Regions from separate parts of the Homo sapiens genome. Here region 2 is linked to region 1. Evidence: promoter capture Hi-C in human tissues and cell types (Jung and others, 2019). All regions are on one chromosome and are shown on one strand. The core of a region is centred on a gene start or on the middle of the fragment in contact, and the rest is flanking DNA. Distances in the headings are between cores, read along the strand shown. Region 1 holds the start of MKNK2 (MAPK interacting serine/threonine kinase 2). Region 2 holds the start of JSRP1 (junctional sarcoplasmic reticulum protein 1).

The links. The method cuts DNA at HindIII sites, captures the fragments that hold promoters and counts their contacts. A contact is called where the count stands out against the background at its distance.
Region 2: a fragment that was not itself captured here is called in contact with the fragment with the promoter of MKNK2 in region 1 in 1 of the 25 tissues and cell types used here (dorsolateral prefrontal cortex).

Annotation. Positions count from the first base shown.
Region 1 is chr19:2,048,739-2,052,493 of GRCh38, reverse strand. It overlaps MKNK2 (MAPK interacting serine/threonine kinase 2), which reads left to right and starts at 1,250. Exons shown (of 14, transcript NM_199054.3): 1 at 1,250-1,398; 2 at 1,547-1,693. The coding sequence starts at 1,643. RefSeq lists silencers at 1,076-1,615, 2,346-2,535 and enhancers at 2,106-2,165, 2,342-2,998, 3,656-3,755. The HindIII fragment of the contact is 30,775 bases long and covers 1-3,755 here.
Region 2 is chr19:2,255,418-2,259,172 of GRCh38, reverse strand. JSRP1 (junctional sarcoplasmic reticulum protein 1) reads left to right here and starts at 2,756. Exons shown (of 7, transcript NM_144616.4): 1 at 2,756-2,790. RefSeq lists an enhancer at 3,002-3,081. The HindIII fragment of the contact is 6,525 bases long and covers 1-3,755 here.

The DNA of each region.
Region 1 (3,755 bases), core at 1-2,500:
TGTTTGTGCGTGTATGTGTTCACACGCACACACACGCACCCACATGCACAATAAGGGGGGCTGGGGGACCTGGTTTTCTGTCCCCCCATTGCCAAGAGTCAGGGCAATGCCAGGTGCTGGGCTGGGTTCTGGCTGGGAATTCCCCACAGGCTTCCCCCCAATGCCCCGGGGGTGGCTGAGGCCAGGCCTCCCAGCCCCTGTGGCCTGAGAGCTGTGGCCTTGCAGGCAGGGGCCCTCCAGCTTCAGGTCAGTGGGGCTCCAGCCCCTCTTGAGCTCAGGGCCTGGTTGGGGGATGGTGGGATGGGCTGTGCGAAGCTTCTGGAAACCCCTGCAGAAGAGGAGACCACAGTCCACCCAGCAGGGGAACCCCCACTCCTTGTGTGCCCCAGGCCCGGGGCCTGGGGAGCACTTTGAACCAGGATGCTGTGGGATGGGGGACTGGCAGCTCAGGACAGGCTGATTCTATCTAAGCCTGGTTTGGGGCCCCAGCCAAAATGGGACTGTGTTTTACTTCCTGTCCTGGCGACCATCCACCCCTTGGGCTCTTTCCCAGTGGGTCTCAGGTCCCAGTTCTCCCTGAAATGCTATTCGAGGACAGAGGAAGGGTCCTTCACAGACCTCGGTCCCCACCCTCTACTCTGGTTCCTGCCAACCACAAAGCAAACTCGGGGAGCTCAGTGCTCCCCAGGCAGGGTGGCCCAGGGGAAGAAGAAAGTAGGTGGCGGTGGCTGGTCCCCCAGCACTAGAAGGGAGTGGCTGGGACTCCAAGCGTGCTGGTGGTGCACGAGGGGGACTGCTGGAGCCAGCACTGGAGAACTGCAAGAGGGAGCCATGGCAGGTTCTAGAGCGAGGGCATGAACCAAGGGAGTCGGGGTATACTAGGCCTGGGTTGACAGGCCAAGGGAGTTGCCCTGTGTGGGGCCAGGCGGTAGGACACGGCCCAGGGCCTCGCAGGTCCCACGGGCCCCGCGAGCCTCAGGCGGCAAAAACAGGCCAGCTCCGGGCGCGCCGCAGGGTCGCTGCCTAGGTTCCGCACCGAGACCCCCGTGCGCCGCACTGCGCAGGCGTGCGCTAGCCGTTTCGGACACGCCCCACCGCCGGAGCGCGCAGCCGCACTGGGTTCCCGGAGAGCGCCCTCTTCTGGCTCCGCCCACGTCGTGCGCAGGGGGTGAGGCCGGGCGGAGCCTGCGTCGGGGGCGGGGCCAGAGCAGGTCCGGGCCTATAAAGGTGGCGGCGGCGGCGACGCGCCCGGCTCCTCTCAGCGGCGGTGGCCCAGGTAGAGGGGTCCGCGCTGGCGGCGGCGGCGGCGCTGTTCCCCGCGCGGTCCGCGGAGCGGGGTCCGGGCTGCGCGACGTGGGGCGGCGGCGGCACTGCGGCCCCGGCCCAAGCCCGACCCCGGTGAGTGCGAACCCCAGGGCGGCCCCGAGGACACCGACCCGGTAGCGGGAAACGGGCCCCGCGGAGCCCTCGCCGCCCCCGCCCGGTCCGCGCTCCTGGCAGGCCGGGCTCCGCTCACCGCCCTCCCTTTGTCTGCTCCCGCCCGCAGGGTCCCCTCCTCGGCCGCCCCCCGCCCGGCCGCCCGCCCTCGGGCCTCCCCCCGGGCCCTCGGTCCCCTCCCCCGCTGGCGGGGCCCGGACAGAAGATGGTGCAGAAGAAACCAGCCGAACTTCAGGGTTTCCACCGTTCGTTCAAGGTGAGGCCCGGGGTCGGTTTGGGGGCGCTCCGGGCTGGACCACCGGAATGGCCGGCGTGGGGGGCGCGGGGCCCGCCCCTAAGATCGGCTCCCGGGGCTCGTGCCTGGCCCCCGCCCTACACCCGGGGCTGCCCGGGCCGGCCGTGCGCTGAAGCGGGGTCGGTGTGCGAGGATGGGGGTTCAGCAGGCCACAGTCCTCTCTCCAGCCATGGCCGCCGGGTCCTTCCTCCAGGACCCCCAAGTGAGGCTGGGAGCAGGAGCCCCCTCCGGGTCAGGGCACCAGGCTGTGTGTCCCCTGCAAGCCCCCGCCGGGTATGTTCTGGGGGGTCAGCAGGCTGCAGTCCTGTCCCAGTCGCTGCATGTGGCTTATGGGGGGTGTCCCCTGCAAGCTCCAGCTGGTTGTGCCCTGGTGGGGACGGGTCAGCGGGCCACAGTCCCATTCCCACCTCCATGTGGCTTCTGGGGACTTTCTTTCAGAATCCCCAGGCCGGGCTGGTCAGGTGCACCCACCCCCAGGGGGCCTGTGCCGTGGGGGAGGGGATGGGATGTCCCCTCAGCCCTGCACTTCGCAGACACCCCAGGCCCAAGTGCTGTTTCCTGTCGGAGCGGGAAGTTTCTGCGCAGCCCGGGTGGTGACTGCTGTTGAGTGCTGGTTTCAGATGAGCAAATCTTGGGGGGGAAGGGGAGGGCAGGTGCTGGGCAGGGGCCCCGCAGGACCTGGCCCAGGGGACGCAGTGATGTCAGCCGGCCCGCCCCACCCCTCAGGCCGGGGTTATGTAATCGCTTCACTGGGCTTCCTTGGGCAGGGACCTGTTGCCCGGTAGGGAAGGCAGGACTGGAGAGAGGAAGAGAGAGTGTGAGTGTATGTGTGTGTGTTTGTGTGTGTGTGTGTCTCTGTCTTGTGTGTACACACAACGCGGTGCTCCAGGGTGGGAGGAGCAAAGAGAGACTGGGAAGAATTCCCAGGTCTGTCCAGCCAGTGCCCCAGGGCAGCACTCCACCCCTGCCACCCCTGCCCAGTTTTCCCCTAGGGCAGCAGGCCTGGCACCATCAGAGTGTCAGGGGCTGGGCGGGAAAGAGGAGGACCTGACAGTGGTCTTCTCCCTCCTAGGGCCAGGCATGAGCTGATACAGAGTCAGTGCATGGGGCCAGCCAGGCAGCTAAAGCACACTTGAACTTTCTAGATGGTTCCAGCCACCTCCTGCCAAGGCCTGCTGACTCGAGTCCCACAGCCAGACCTAGAACAGTGGGACCAGGACCGCCCACACTGCCCAGGATTGTGGGCCGGCCTCTGTGCATGGCCAGGGCAGCCTGGCTGGGAGCTGGGAAGGTGGGCGTCTTGGTGGAGGAGGGCCTGGCAGGCAGTCCTGGCTGTGAGGTGTTCCTCCAGGTGGCCGGGACCGGTTGCTCTAGGAATCTCCCCCCACAGCCCCCACCATGCACGGCTGCTCCCTGGATTGGGGCCACCTCTCCTGAAATACTCTCCTTGCCTCCAGCAGGCAGCAGCCCAGCAGGGAGGCACGTCTGTGGGTGCCTTGGGTTTCTTTCCGTTCGCAGATGGGAAAGTGAGGCTCTGAGACTGCAGGCGCGTGTGCCTGGGGCTCCCCTGTACACGGGCGAGGAGGCCGCGGAGTCTCGTGGTGCCTGGCCCCTCCGCTGTGGTGGCTGCGGCCGTCCATCTGTAGCTTTGCTGAGTTGGAGGCTGTGGCTGGCACAGGGGAACGGTGGCCAGACAGGGCCAGGAGCTCACGCTGGGCTCTGTGGCCCCTTAGGTCATTTCACTCTCGTGAGCTCCCACGAGTTGGGGGCAGCTGCCTCCCGTCTCACCGCTGACAGACCCCAGGGTGAGGTCACTAGGCCAAGGTCAGACAGCAGGTGAACTCCAGTCTGGCCTTAGACCCTGGTCACCTGCCTTGTGGTGGCTGCCCCAGGGCCACCAGGGGCCTCTGGACAGGAGCCTTATGGGAATGCTGACTCCCATGGGGGCTAGTTGGAGCCCCCCCCTTCCTTCCCTCCTCCCCCAGCAGCCTCCTGGTAGCTATCTGCCCGAGCCAGGGTGGGT
Region 2 (3,755 bases), core at 400-2,899, 210 kb before region 1:
CCCGGCTGATTTTTTGTATTTTTAGTAGAGACGGGGTTTCACCGTGTTAGCCAGGATGGTCTCGATCTCCTGACCTCGTGATCCACCCACCTTGGCCTCCCAAAGTGCTGGGATTACAGGCATGAGCCACTGTACCCGGCCCTGTCCTGGACATTTCATAGAAATGGGATCACATACAGCATGGCCTTCTGTGTCTGGCACCTCTCACCGAGCGTGACATCCTTAAAGTGCATTCACGCCATGGCCGCAGTCAGAGCCTCGTTCCTGTTCACGGCTGTGTCGTACTTCACCGTGTGGAAGGGCCACGCTGTGTTGATCCGTGTATCTGAGGATGGAACGCTAGAGCTGCCTACACCATGTGGCTGCGGAGAATCGTGCTGCCCTGAACTTGGGTGTGCAAATATCTGAGTCCAAGCTTCGGATTCCTTTTCGTAGATACCTAGGAGTAGAGTTTCTGCATCTTATGGTCATTCTATTTTAGCTTTTTGAGGAACTGCCAAGCTGTAATATACTTTTAGGAGGGGCCAAGCACTGTGGCTCACGCCTGTAATCCCAACACTTCAGGAGGCCAGAGTGGGCAGATCGCCTGAGGTCAGGAGTTTGAGACCAGCCTGATTAACATGGTGAAACCCCATCTCTGCTAAAAATATGAAAATTAGCCAGGCGCAGTGGTGCATGCCTGTAATCCTAGGTCCTCGGGAGGCTGAGGCAGGAGAATCGCTTGAACCCAGGAGGCAGAGGTTGCAGTGAGCCGAGATCGCGCCATTGCACTCCAGCCTGGGTGACAGAGAGAGACTCCATCTCAACAACAACAAAAAAACTTTTAGGAAGAAAAAATAAATCTAGGTTACAAACAAGATGTTCAGCCCTTCGCTAATTATGCCAGCTTTATAAAAATAAATATGGAACTAATAATAAAATCACAAGTTACAAACAGCGGAAAGAACATGTCAAACTATTAAACAGTGTCTGTTTGGGGGCGGGAAGATGACAGGTGCTTTACAGTTTTTGCTTTCAGCTTCTCTTTGTTTCCTGTTTGTCTCTGCCTTGTGTCATACAGAAAAAAATGAGAGCCATTTCTTTTTTTTTTTCTTTTTGAGACAGAGTCTCGCTCTGTCGCCCAGGCTGGAGTGCAGTGGTGCCATCTCGGCTCACTGCAAACTCTGCCTCCCGGGTTCACGCCATTCTCCTGCCTCAGCCTCCCGAGTAGCTGGGACTACAGGCGCCCGCCACGACACTCAGCTAATTTTTTGTATTTTTAGTAGAGACGGGGTTTCACCGTGTTAGCCAGGAGGGTCTCAATCTCCTGACCTTGTGATCCACCTGCCTTGGCCTCCCAAAGTGCTGGGATTACAGGCGTGAGCCACCGCGCCCGGCCGAGAGCCGTTTCTAAAGCGGAGGGAGTGGGGACCAGGGAACCCCAGCCCTTGCTTTGCTGAAGGCGGGCTGGCCTTCTGGGTCTCTTGGTAGTTCCTGGGGAGGCCCTATTCACTCAGAATTATTATTATTATTTGAGACAGAGTCTCACTCTGTCGCCCAGGCTGGAGTGCAATGATGTGATCTCGGCTCACTGCAACCTCCACCTCCCGGGTTCAAGCAATTCTCCTGCCTCAGCCTCCCCAGTAGCTGGGATTACAGGCATCCACTATCACGCCTCACTAATTTTTGTATTTTTAATAGAGACAAGATTTCACCATGTTGGCCAGGCTGGTGTCAAACTCCCGACCTCAGGCGATCCGCCCGCCTCAGCCTCCCACAGTGCTGGGATTACAGGCGTGAGCCACCGCGCCCGGCCATTCACTCAGGATTTTTAACACACAGGCCTCACCACCAAAATCCACTTCCCCTCTTCCCTCAGGACTCCCAGAGTCACCATGCTTTGCAGGTAGGGCTCAAACATCTGCCTGCAGGCCTTAGAATGTGCCTTTGGGGGCTGAGAGACCCCGGGTCCTCTCCAGAGCAGAGGCGTCAGGTTTCTCTGCATGACGGTGTGGGAGCAGGCAGTTCCGAGTGTATGAGCCTGCCAGAGCCACAGAAACAAATGACCCCAAATACAGTGGCTTTAAACAGCAGGAATGAATGCATTGCAGGGGCTCCCGCCTGGGATCCCAGCACTTTGGGTGGCCAAGGCGAGCGGATCACATGGATTACTTGCGGTCAGGAGTTCGAGAGCAGCCTGGCCAACATAGGGAAACCCTGTCTCTACTGAAAAAAAAATACAAAAATTAGTCCGGGTGCAGTGGCTCACGCCTGTAATTCCAGCAATTTGGGAGGCCAAGGTGGGCGGATTCCGAGGTCAGGAGACCGAGACCATCCTGGCTAACACGGTGAAACCCCATCTCTACTAAAAATACAAAAAAAATTAGCCGGGCGCGGTGGCGGGCGCCTGTAGTCCCAGCTACTCGGGAGGCTGAGGCACGGGAATGGCGTGAACCCGGGAGGCGGAGCTTGCAGTGAGTGGAGATCGCGCCACCGCACTCCAGCCTGGGAGACAGAGCGAGACTCCGTCTCAAAAAAAATTGAAAACTTACCGGGTGTGATGGTGCGCGCCTGTAGTCCCAGCTGCAGGCGCTACGTCTCCCTGGGTGGCAGTGGCGAGTGCTGAGTAGGAGCAATGCCCTGCCCTGCTGCAATGGCAGGGAAGGGTGGGGGACTCCCCGGCTGTGACCTCACTCCAGCGGGCATGCTGATTGGCCCACCCGCGGTCTCTGGCCACCTGTTGCCGTCCATCACGGGGCCACCCTCCCCATCCTCCGTCCTGTCCACAAGGCTCAGCAAAGCGGCTGGCGGGTAAGCGAGGCTCGGGGGTAAGGAAGTGAGGCTGGGGGAATCCCGGGCAGAGGTGTGGGCTCCCGGGGTGTGAAGGGGTGTTGCAGAGGACTGTAAGGGTCCCCAATTCCTGGAGCTGCCCCCATGCACACCCAGGGGCCACACACCAGCCTCCCATGCTTCTTGGGCCCCTCCCCCACTGCCACGCAATAGGCCCCTTCCAGGTCTTGGAGCCCCAGGGCTGGGTGGTTTTTCAGCCTAGATACAGGGACACCCTAATCCCAGCAGCCAGAGGCCATGGGGACCCTGAAGAGTACAGCTTTGGGTCTGACTTGAAGCTCCTTGCGACCTCCAGCCAATGGCACTGTCTCTAGCCTCGGTTTCCTCATCTGTCCTATGGGAACAGAGTTAGTGGGACAAGGCAGGGTACTCTGTGTCAGGATCAGAAGACCCCCAACCACAACCGGGACCCTCCTCCCCTGCCCCGGCCTGTCACGACCAGAGCCAGGATGGTTCTGCTGCTGGGGCCTGAGCCTGTAGACTCACAGGGTCACGCAGCAGGATGTGGGTGCCCAGAATGGCAAGTCAGGGTGGCCCAGAGGGAGACCCCATGAGAGCAGAGGCCTGGGAGGGGCTGGGGCACCTGTTAGCCTGTCCCGCTGGCCTCAGGCACCAGATAAAAATAGTCCCTGGTCTCAGAGAACATGAGCTGACTCTGGGGCCAAGAGTTTCGGTTTGGGGTGCGTCTGGGACTCATTGCTGTGTTGTCCTGCAGGGGCTCCCGCCCTCTCTGGGCCAGAGCAGCCTGGGCTACTGTACTGATGGATACTGGACCCCAGTGAGGCTGGGCGGTAGGGAGGGGTCCCAGGGCAGGCATGCGGGGTCAGAGAGATGCCTGGAGTGGGCGCCGGGCCATGCCTGGCATGAGTATGAATTTGCCGAGTGAGGAGGGGTGGGAGGACGGGGCCTGTTAGTTGGTGTCCGCA